2 separate regions of the Homo sapiens genome follow, and region 2 is linked to region 1. Evidence: promoter capture Hi-C in 16 types of primary human blood cells and fetal thymus (Javierre and others, 2016). All regions are on one chromosome and are shown on one strand. The core of a region is centred on a gene start or on the middle of the fragment in contact, and the rest is flanking DNA. Distances in the headings are between cores, read along the strand shown.

Region 1 (5,660 bases), core at 2,303-4,802:
TTAAACCACAAATTTTACATTCCTAACTAAACTCCTTGAAAAGCAATGACCAGCATTACTAATCTCTCTCTCCATCTCACCCGCCTCATACACCCAGCATTTGCCCAGAACATATATTCAATATCTGTCAACTGACTGATACAAATAGCTACAATCAGAATAGGGAAGGCAAAAGAAAGATTAAAAGAAACCGCTGGTGGACATCAACCACTAACTAATCAAAGGGATGTCAACTTCTCCATGTTTCAGTTTTTTCAATTATAAAATGTAGACAGTAATGCTACCTCAAAGGGCTATTCTAAGTATTAAATACTACTTATATTAAATACTGCATGTAAGTGTGTTGTGAACTTCAAAGTACTATACCAATATTTGTTGCTATTTCCCTCAAGTCATGATGTGGAAATAAGACTTGAGACAATGAAAGGCATCTGGGAGGCTGGGCGCAGTGGCTCACGCCTGTAATCCTGGCACTCTGGGAGGCCAAGGTGGGCGGATCACCTGAGGTTGGGAGTTTGAGATCTGCCTGACCAACAGGGAGAAACCCTGTCTCCACTAAAAATAAAAAATTAGCTGGGTGTGGTGGCACATGCCTGTAATCCGAACTACTCGGGAGGCTGAGGCAGGAGAATCGCTTGAACCTGGGAGGCGGAGGTTGTGGTGAGCTGAGATTGTGCCATTGCACTCCAGCCTGGGCAACAAGAGCAAAACTCTGTTTAAAAAAAAAAAAAAAAGAGGCATCTTGGAGACCAAACATGTCCAAAATAACTCTTGATTTCCACCTCTTCAAACTTGTTCCTTCCTCATCTTCCAAGTCTCCGTACCCATACACCCAATTATTCAAGCCGAAAACTTAAAAAGGCATCAATTCCTCTATTTCCTTCACTTCTATATACAATATATATTTTTAATTGAGACAGGGTCTTCCTCTATCATCCAAGCTGGAGTGCAGTGGCACAATCATGGCTCACTGCAGCCTCAACTTCCTGGGCTCAAGTGATTTCTACCACCTCATCTTCCTAGGTAGCTGAGACTACAGGTGCATGCTGCTATCCCTAGCTAATTTATTTTTATTTTTTGTAGAGATGGGGTCTCATTATGTTGCCCAGGCTGGTCTCAAACTTTTGGGCTCAAGCAATCCTCCCACCTCAGCCTCCCAAAGTGCTGGGATTACTGGCGTGAGCCACAGCGCCTGGCCCTGTATTCAATTTTTCAACCCTGTCAGCTCTACCTCTAACATCCTGTATCCATTTACTTCTCTATGCCCTGCTATGCTCTGGTTCAAACCATTATCTTTCCTGGACTACTGAGCAGTAACTTCTGACTAATTTCCCCACTTTCTATTTGTCATGTGGCTGCTTAAATGATTATAAACAAGTGCATTTGACCAACTTCCTATGTTAAAATGGCTTTCCTTGGCTGGGCACAGTGGCTCAGACCTATAATCCTAGCACTTTGGGAGGCCAAGGCGGGAGGACTGCTGTTGGCCAGGAGTTCAAGACCAGCTTGCGCAACACAGTAAGACCCAGTCTCTACAAAAAAATTTTAAGTTAGCCAACTGTGGTGGTGCATGCCTGTAGTCCTAGCTACTTGGAAGGCTGAGGTGGGACGACAGCATGAGCCTAGGAACTGGAGGTTACAGTGAGCTATGATTATACCACTGCAGTCCAGCCTGGGTGACACAGTGAGACCTTGTGTCTATAAAAAAATTTTTTAAATGGCTTCCTTTTGTATTTACAATCTAAATGCCTTTACTGCTTTATAAAAGCCTCTGCCTAACTCTCCCAGCTTCATCTCTCTCCCTAACACTCTTTCCTTTTGTTCACTTCACTGGAGTCCAACTGATTTTCTGTCCCTCAGATATTCTAAGCTTTTTCTCACATCAGGGTTTCTGACCTCATTTCTTGTATCTACAATTGTCTCTCCCTCCTGTCCATACATGGCTGGCCCTTTGTCTATGCTTACATTTTAGTTCAAATGTTAGCTATGTGAAGAGAGCATCTCTGGCCACTCTAGCTAAAGTAGTTCTGCCCCTCAATTTTTTTTTTTTAAGAGACAGGGTCTCATCTGTTGCCCAGGCTGGAGTGCAGTGGCACAATCTTGGTTCACTGCAGCCTCGACCTCCTGTGTTCAAGCGATTCTCCTCCCTTAGCCTCCTGAGTAGCTGGGGCTACAGGCATGCATTACCACGCCCGGTTAATCTTGTATATTTTGTAGAGACTGGGTCTCGCCATGTTGCCCATGCTGGTCTCAAACTCCTGGGCTCAAGGGATTCTGCCTCGGCCTCCCAAAGCGCTGGGATTACAGGCGTGAGCAACGCGCCTGGCCACCTTCAATTTTTATCATGTTTTCTTTTCCTAGCATTAACCACTTTCTGACATTATCTTGTTTACAATGCCTCCTCCACTGAAATGTACATCCCAAAAAAGGCAAGCATCTTGTCAGTCTTGTTCACAACTGTCTCCAGCATTTAGAAAAGTGCTTGGTACATAGGTACTCAACAAAATAATTTTTTGAATGAAGAGTTTGGTTCGATTCTTATCCCTTTTTTGATCAGACCAGGAAATGCCGGAACCTTAGAAGGAAGAATGGCAACTTGCCCCAAACCAATAGCAAGTCTGTGGGAGACCTGTAACTAAAACTTTGGGTCCCCAAAGATATTAAATCAGGCCTCTCGAGTTCCAAACTCAAACCCTGGATTTTGTTTGTTTTGAGACGGAGTCTCGTTCGCCCAGGCTGGAGTGCAGTGGAGCAATGTCGGCTCTCTGCAACCTCCGCCTCCCGGGGTTCAAACGATTCTCCCGCCTCAGCCTCCCGAGTAGCTGGAATTAAAGGTATACGCCACCACGCCCAGGTAATTTTTGTGTTTTTTGTGGAGACAGGGTTTCATCATGTTGGCCAGGCCGGTCTCGAACTCCTGACCTTAGGTGATTCGCCCGCCTCCGCCTCCCAGAGTGTTGGGATTACAGGCGTGAGCCACCGCGCCCAGCCCTAGGTCATTTTTTAGAGAGACATAAACCAGTGTCAGGGACACAGCCTGGACATGGTGCAAAAGACAGTAACGGAGATGCACTACGCCCCTGCCCGCCATTCATCCCTTTGGTTGAATTCAACTCATCCTGGTTGAATTCAAGTCATCCCTCTGCTTGTGAATCCTAACAGCGCTTCCGACTTAGGGCTCCACAGTCCGGGTATGCGTTGCCTAGGTTACCTCGCACCTCCGCTAGCCGGCTGAGAGCCACGCCCATCACCTCCTCTCTAAGATTTGATTGGCTGGCTTTGGCAAGGCCGAGTACTCACCTGGCAGTTCCCTCATGAGGTAAAAAGGGCCACAGCCAGCTCCTGACTTGTCCGCGCCAGGAGGAGCCGTGGCCGCGGTGGGAGGCGGGGCCGTGCCGGGTCCCCCGCCCGCAGGAGGCGGTGGCGGGGGTGGAGGCTTTCCTGGTCCGAAGCCGAGTGCGGTTGGGGGCGGTGGTGGGTCAGCCTGAGCCCCAAACAGTGCCGTGAAATTCTCCATCGTACCCTCCGCCCCGGCGCTGTCTCCGTGTCTGCCGTTGGTAATTTTCATTGGACAATGCTTTCAAGGAGTACCCCCCCGCCCTTTCTCAAGGAGCCGCTTGTCATTGGATGCCTCAGGCACCGCCTACCTTTTTTCAACAACTACTTCCGTCGCCTTATGAGAACGTTCAGGAAGTGCTATTTAACCTTATTAGAGTCTTCTGCTAGCTCTGCTTGCTACAGTCCAATAAAATGACTTAGGCGGATAAAGCGACAACTAGACTAACCAATAAAATATTAAGTTCTTTTTTGGGTTCTGACCTACCACAGCGTTCAGAGAACTACATCCGGGTTTAGAGGCCGTACGTTTGCGATATAGCCCAATAGCAGTCGTTATGGTGGGGGAGGCGGGGCGAGACCTACGACGCCGGCGAGCAGTGGCCGTTACGGCCGAAAAGATGGCGGTCTTGGCACCTCTAATTGCTCTCGTGTATTCGGTGCCGCGACTTTCACGATGGCTCGCCCAACCTTACTACCTTCTGTCGGCCCTGCTCTCTGCTGCCTTCCTACTCGTGAGGAAACTGCCGCCGCTCTGCCACGGTCTGCCCACCCAACGCGAAGACGGTAACCCGTGTGACTTTGACTGGGTGAGCCTCCCGCGTGTTAGTACCCCGCGACCTTGACTGTCCCTGCCCTTGCAGGTGTATCTGGGAACCCTGGGGTTTACCTCTCTGAGGACACCTGAGGTTCCGAGCCTGTAGCGGACTTAGAGACTATTAAGTGCAGGGTCCGAACCATCATCGAGTCTAAACTTTGTGTTTAAGATGGGAAAACGGAACATGTTAGTCGTAGCCCATGCACAACGGCCCAACAGCTTTTGACTGTTGAGTCCAGGTTTCTTTCTGTTTCACCATTGAGACTAATTAACAGCCCTATCAAAACTGTACATACACGTGTATAACGTTTTACAGTGCCGCTCATTATGTAAAGCCTCCTGAGGAGCCAGTAAGGTAGACAAGGCAAGTAGTAATATTCCTGTTTCATTGGTGAAGAAATGGATCTCGGTATATTTAGGTGACTTGCCCCAGGTCATACAACTAATGAGTGCCTGGGACTTGAAACTACTCTTCTGGCCACACTACCTGCACAACACTGTCAGCCGCTTCTTAATTCAATAAACATTTCTAGAGTGTACACTCTAGGCACTCTGCTTGATCCTGAAGATGCGAAAGTGGATAAAATTTGGGGGCTACTGTAAAGGAATTGTAAAAAATACGTTGTAAAGAAATCTTTGGGATTTCTTTGGGAAGTGTCCCAAGCTCCTTGCTGTGCTTCCTTGGTATGGGTGGAGGGACTGCTCGGAACATAAACTTAAAGCACTTTCCCTTCTGCCATATAGCATGTAGGGGCCAAGGAAAAGCTTCCCCTTTGCTCTCTGAGGGTTTGTTGAAAAATCAACCGACAAAGGGCACATTAATAGGAGAAAGGCATAGAAATTTTATTTTAACGTGCATAGCATGAGGGAATTGCAGGAGAATGACCCAGTGGGGTACAGATGCTTATATACCCTCTTTCATAGGAATATGGGAGATGGGAAAATGTGGGTGATTTTAAGGTGGATCGTAAATGATTTTTAGGGTGATTCAGTGGCCTGGAGAACATACAGTGGCCTGGGACAATGACTGTTGGGCCTGCAGAGCAGACAATGGTTTCTGACAAAAATCTGTCCAGGTGTGTTGACAGGCTTCCATCTTTCTTCTTGTACTGAAGTAAGTTAATGAAAACTCAGGGAAGAGACCAGAAGTAATTGTTGTCTTCTTTGACAGGTCTGGACTTTAGGCAGATAAGGTAGTTATCAGAGTAAAGCTGCTTCCAGTATCTGCTGGTTTCCAGGGACCTTTAATTTAAAATGATTAGCATACAGGATGCCATATTTTGGGGTGTGAGTCCCTGGTCTTCTTTATTTCCTTTGTCTGAAACTTCCTTAGAAGTTTCACTATAAGCTGAGTTGGTGTCTGTGGAGAGAGAAATCGGGCTAGTAATTGAGCGGCAAAGGATCCCATTAAACCAGCCTCTCATTTTGGGGGATAGTCCAGTTCAATTAAATTGTTGTGTCTCATTTCAGAAGATGGCATTGTAGATGAGTTCTCAAAGCTAGGCCT
Region 2 (6,459 bases), core at 2,080-4,579, 1.0 Mb after region 1:
ATTCTTTATTTACCACAGTCAGAAATCCTGTACAGGGACTGTGTACACAAAATATATGGACATTTTTTTCAAGGGCTTTATTGGCTCCAGAAGTCAAGTTTGATTTCTTAAAGGAAAGCAGTTAAAGCCTTAGTAAAATAACCAGTTTCTCCAATTGTTTCCTGTTACAAATGAAAACAGATTCTTATTGCACTTATGCAAATAAATGTATTACCATAAGTTAAGAATACTCACAATTTCCAAATTCTGGAGAAGTGAGGTAGAGAGAAACAAACATGCTCCAAAGTTTGTTCATAGGAGTATACTAAATTGTTAAAAGCTGTCAATAGCTCAAAAGAAAAGTTTTAAGACTGAAAATCAAAGGATCAGCAAACATTTTAAGTAAAATGTGAAAAAGATTGGTTCAGTCCATGTAGTTAATTCCTATTTTGCTTGATACTCATTAACATTTTATCTCTCTATGAGTCCTGAAAGTTTTTTCTCTATTCTGATGTCACAATCTCCAAAGTTATCAGAAACCTGCATTTAAGAGTACCTGTTGGAGTTTTATAGCTGATTATAAAACCACCTTCTAAAGAGGACCAACACAAGGCAACAATTTTCCATGGATGAAAAAAAGGTTTAAGGCAGCCATAGTCAAAAGACACAATTGACAAGAAAATTTATTACTTCTGTGGCACACAGTATCAGAAACCCACATTTAAGAGCACCTGTTGGAGTTTTATAGCTGATTATAAAACCACCTTCTAAAGATGACCAAAACAAGACAATAATTTTCCATGGATTAAAAAAAGGTTTAAGGCAGCCATTGTCAAAAGATACAATTGACAAGAAAATTTATTACCTCTGTGGCACACAATATGATTATTATTGATAATGTATACTAAATTATATTATAATTACAGGAGTTTCCCATAATTTTGGAACACATACCAATAACATATTTATACAAAGACAGCCCAAAGAAAACCAAACACCAATTCATATTTGGCAATGCCTTCTGTATAATTTTTATACCAAATAAGCCAAATTGTGTCATTTTTGTACTTAGGGGAACCTACTGTCTTAAAGAATTAATCAGGTCAGAAAAAGACATAATTTATAGTTCAATTTTGGAAAGTTGTCAAATGTAAGTTTAAAACACTTGAAATTACAAAATAGGATTATAGGTCATTTTAAAGTCATTTATTTAACTAAAGTGAAAGTCAAAGACTTCAAAAAACAGTGAAAACCTTCATTTTTTGAGAAAGGAAATTTAATTTTCTAAACAAGAAGCCCCAATAAAAACAGCATGAAGCTAATTACATTTGTTTTTCAAAATTTGTAAACAATCTATAAAATTTAATCTATATTATAAAATGTAACTTCCTTAAGCCTCTTATAACCTTTATTAAAGAGTTGGTTAATGCTTCAAGAGAGCCTTGTTAATCTGCCACAGGGGTCTATATGCTGGTTTTTCATCAGTGTTCCTTTGACATTAATGATTAATTTACGGAGAAATGAAACTTATTTTATCTTTCAAAATCAGGCATTACACTCTTACATGCCCAACTCCTCCATGATAGTCCCTGGGCCTTGAGGAGTTGAGTAGCTTTAATTTATTGCCCTGTGTCTCAGGAAGGCAGTTTATTTTGATTGGCATTTTCTACAGGGCCTGAAGATGAGGCTTTAATTGCTGTCAGTGTTTAAAATTTAGCAGGACTTGGTATGCTTTATAGATGCAGGAGTTAAAGCTCTGTGATTCAATGTTAGAAGGACTTTAAAAGCATATACAGGAAGATACATGGATGTAATAATCTTAATTAAAAAATTTTATCTCAGTTTTTTTCTAAGCAAATGAAAACTTAATATGATAACTTGATCATATAAACTTTTTAAATATAGAAATCCTCTTATTGTGACTTACACCGACTGTTCATGACATGCTTGGAATTTCTGGTTTGTCCTGAACATCCCTCTTTTTTAAACAACCACTTATTTTAGTTTAGGATTAAATTTACCACACAAGATTCTGTCTTATATAAAATTATTTCTCTTTAAGCTTTTTTACCTAAAAAAACCTTTGTTAAAAATAGCTTTTTCATATCTTTTTTTAGTCCTAGTCCCTTTTACCTTGTTTTATACATAACCTTTAAATAAGCTTTGAATTGGAAAAAAACTTGTTCACCTCTTTAAAAAACACACACACAGTTTTGTTTATTTTTTAGCAAGAATATTTTCCTACAATATATTTTTATGGGAAGATACCCAAATAATGAAATGTCTATTATTTAATTTAATATAATTTCATACTCTAAATTATGACCAATTTGCCTACAAATATTTATCCAATTACATTACCCCAATTATTTTAATTGTTTACCTGGATTATTTATGAAAACTGTGATATTCATGATTTAAAGTTATAAAACTGACATTGCAAGATTATAACTGAGACAGTGAAAACGGATTTGACCTAACTGACTCCATCTGGCTTTTAACGTCCAAGCTGTCCTCATTCATTCCTGGACGTAGGCCTAACTAACTTTGGGAGGAACTTGGTTTATAGTTTAGCTTTGAAACAAAGAGGATAACAGTCTTTTCCCCAAACAAACCTCCTTATTGACTGTGGACCAGACTGCCTAAACCCACAGGATTAGAAGTTATGGTGATCTTACTAAATTAAAGATGCAGCTATTTTCATTAAACCCATATCAATGCATTATTTATTAAAAATTACACAAGCAATGATTATCCTGTTTGGGGCTGGGTTCATAGTTATGTAACCTGTATGCCAAACATTGACAACTTATAGTATTTGGCAGGGATAAGTATGAAATTTGCTTGATTAATAAATGCAAACAAAATGTATGCTGGTAATTCTTAAGACATTTCTACTATTACTTTACCAAAAATTTTAAAGCTAGCTTATTTATTAAAGATTTTATTTAAGTTACATAAACTTGAAAAAGGATTTTAATAGTCTTTTCTTTTTTAGTATCGCATTTAAGCACTTTTGTTTTTTCTTTAAGTCAATTAATTAGAACACTTTATATATTTTTAGTAGTGAAATATTTTGTATACAATACATAAATACATATAAAGATGAATTAGGCATGCCAACGGAAGTACATTTTATAGATTTATAAAGATCACCCCACTTTTTTTTTCTATCTTAGAATTTCAGATTCTTGGTAACCTGTTTCAAAACCCTAGGCAGCTGTCAGAAAAATAGCCTTAAATTTGCACATTAAAGGAAACAACTCAGGTGAAAATCAAATAGTAAAATTTACAACATAAGGTACAGAGAGAAAAAGTCTGGTGATGATAGAAGGAGATGTTTTTATTTTTCTTTTAGCCAAATTAAAAATAAAATTAAACTTCATTTTTTTCTTAAATAACCACGTAGCCTTTGTTGCAATAACTATTTTAGTTAAAAAAAAATCAGGTGAAAACAGAATTCAGTCAACTGAGAAGGAAAACAAAACAAAACAAAAAAACTTTTGCTCGAAAATAGACAAGGTCTTAGGAGAGAAAAAGAAACAAAAATAAAAACATGAAGGCCTTCAAATACAAACATGCACACATGAACACATACACACATACATCTTGGATGTTAGCCTTTTAATTAAGCTGACTTTTAACAATTGAGCTCCTTAATTTTTTTAAAAAAATCTTATTACCATATTTCAGTTAGGACCAAATGCTGCTTTTTCAGAAGTACAGCCATTGCTCTTTCAGTTTGGTCTGGCTGGCAAAAAGGTGACCTTATAATGTAAATAAAGCCCCTTTAGTAGTTAAAATTCAAAATCTTTTTTTTTTCTCTTTTGCTAGCCATTTTCCTCCCACATCAGAGGTCTTGTTCCTCATAATTTAGAGTTCTCCTTTCAATTTGTCCAAGAAAAATACAAAGAACAAAAAAGTTAAGCAAAACTAACAATGATCACCCAAATTACATGATTTCTGAGCACCGTAAGTGTAAGCAGAAATTAACACCAGGTAGTTGTTAAATGCTAACTTTAGTTGTGTAAAAAGTAAAGTAGAGGTTCCTCTTCAAAGAGACCTTCCTCCCCATCTAATTAGGAATAAATAAACTTAATAATTTGACCAAATTTGGGGAGATCAGGGATTCTCTGGAGGGGATGCTCACAGACCTCAGCAAATTGTCCTATTAGTTTGAGCCATAAAGTCAGCCATACTGGTACCAAGCACCGATAGGAGATTTGTCAAAGGTCAGGGGCATCTCCACTCAGAATGCTCCCATGGTTACCAAAATCTAAACCCCAAAAATCAGAGACAGGTCTCAGTTAATTTAGAAAGTTCACTTTGCCAAGGTTGAGGATGTGCCACTGACACAGCCTCAGGAAGTTCTGATGCCATGTGCCCAAGGTGGTCAGGGCACACTTGGTTTTATATATTTTAGGGAGATATGAGGCCTCGATCAATATATGTAAGAAGTACTTTGGTTCGGTTTGGAAAGGTGGGACATATTGAAGAAGGGACATTTTGAAGCAATGGCAGGAAGACTTGAAGCAGGGAGAAAGCTTTCAGGTCACAGATATGTGAGACAAACAATTCATTCTTTTGAGTTTCTGATTAGCCTTTCCAAAGAGGCAATCAGATATGCATCTATCTTAGCAACTTTGAATAAATAGAATGGGAGGCAAGTTTGCCCTAAGCAGTTTCCAGCTTGAGTTTTCTTTAGTGATTTTGGGGGCCCAAGATATTTTCCTTTCACACTAGTGAACAGAACATAGCGAGGCAGCTGTTATCAGTTGAATCAGTTGTAGTGGACATCTTTATGCATTTTATATCTAACACTCAGAAGAATGGATGGACATTTTCTTAACTAGGCCTCAAGTAATTGTTGAGTAACAGTGAATTCTAGGTTAGACACCTCCATTAAAAGCAACTGGCATAAAAAATTTTAGAGTTCCATTAGGGGAAAATGTATGTCTTTTAGTATACAACAAAAGAGGAGGAATGCTATTTCCTCATGAAAGGGAGGAGTCATGAGGGCCTCCTTATCTCACCATAGAGGGGTCCCAAGAAGGAATCCTTGGGAAACACCTAGAGTTTTCTCAAAATGTTTAGGATCCACTTAACACAAGGAATAAGGAGAAATTTGAAGCACAAAATTCTACATCACAGAGTGTTGAACAAAATGTTTAGCCTAGAGAATTTTTAAGAGTAGCCACTAATCATAAAAATACCTCAACTAATTATACATACAGTGTCTTAACTAATATGCCTTCCAAAAAAAATGTTCTGTCTCTCTGGGAGGTTATTTATATCTTAAGGATTGTCATGTGAAGCCACTTAAATATTAGGTAATTTTGATTAATGTTAGTAGGAGCTTCAAGGTGGGTAACTTTAGATTTGGATTAGTTTACTTGAAGCTATACTGTGTTGTTAATAAATAAAGAATAAAGCTTGTTGTCTCAATGCATCTCTGATGAATGAAAATAAAACTATATAATCACAAATAAAAGAATGCTAATATTTTCTCCTTTATACTGAAAGAAGGGAATAACAAATCATTTAGGGAATGGGTAATTTGAATGTATTTACCTGAAATGTATGCACTATATAGGAATGTCTTCTAAAACAATACAAATGTAAAAATAATTGTCCACTAAAGAGATACACACACACATATACATGAACAATTGTACTTGGGTTCCATTGGAGTGAGCCATATCCATTTGGTTGCTAAATATATACATACAGACAAGAATCTGACTCTATCATTGGAACTGCTCTTGCATAGTTCTGGATGTAGGCATTTATATATATCCATTTATATATATATATTTATATTTGTTTTATTTAATTCTTAGACCTCTAATTATTAATACCAGGTTAAGAGAGATACTGGGAGCTAGCCCTAAAGTAACTCGACCTGCCTTCAATTCAGAGCAATTGGGAAATTTACATTAAAATAGAAATTGATCTGTTATTAATTTCAAAGAAGACTCATTCTAGTTAACCTCTCACTGGCAAGTGTCCTTTTGTAATAAACAAGTTAAACATTAATATGCAGCCTCAGCCAACTTTGTAGAACTCTGGGCAAATTTCAAATGTTATTATAAAATGCTTCTTGGAAAGGAGCAAGGAAGTAATTTTTTGAGTTAGCACAGAGCAAAAGGCAGTGTTTAGACTAAGGCATAACTATGTTCATATCATAGCATTGCAACTCAGTATTTGTGATATATTGAGAAAATCAGTTAACTGAGTCTTCATTTTCTTAACAGCAACATGGACATGACAGTAAACATCTTGTAGAGAGGTAAGGCATACTAAATGAGAGAAAACATGAAATAGTGCCTGGCTCAAAATAGGTGCATCATAAATATCAGTCCCTTTCCCTCCTCTTTCACATCAAGTTTGTCTTCTTTACTCCTCTCAGAATTTTCCATTATCACCTTTAAGGATGCTGGGAGGCTCTTCCTCAAGGATTTCTCCAGCATCTGCAGCATC

What was found. Contacts are between HindIII fragments. The CHiCAGO score rates a contact against its expected background, and 5 or more counts as called.
Region 2: a contact is called between a fragment that was not itself captured here and the fragment with the promoter of MED19 in region 1, in 1 of 17 cell types (non-activated CD4 T cells). The highest score is 5.0, in non-activated CD4 T cells.

The regions. Positions count from the first base shown.
Region 1 is chr11:57,708,663-57,714,322 of GRCh38, forward strand. It overlaps MED19 (mediator complex subunit 19), which reads right to left and starts at 3,553. Exons shown (of 5, transcript NM_001317078.4): 1 at 3,301-3,553. The coding sequence starts at 3,517. It overlaps TMX2 (thioredoxin related transmembrane protein 2), which reads left to right and starts at 3,931. Exons shown (of 8, transcript NM_015959.4): 1 at 3,931-4,145. The coding sequence starts at 3,957. TMX2-CTNND1 (TMX2-CTNND1 readthrough (NMD candidate)) reads left to right here and starts at 3,861. Exons shown (of 21, transcript NR_037646.1): 1 at 3,861-4,145. RefSeq lists a silencer at 3,184-3,523. The HindIII fragment of the contact is 3,048 bases long and covers 1,869-4,916 here.
Region 2 is chr11:58,718,012-58,724,470 of GRCh38, forward strand. GLYAT (glycine-N-acyltransferase) reads right to left here. Exons shown (of 6, transcript NM_201648.3): 2 at 6,405-6,459. Among named protein-coding and RNA genes, the nearest start is that of GLYAT, 11 kb to the right of the region's middle. The HindIII fragment of the contact is 2,383 bases long and covers 2,139-4,521 here.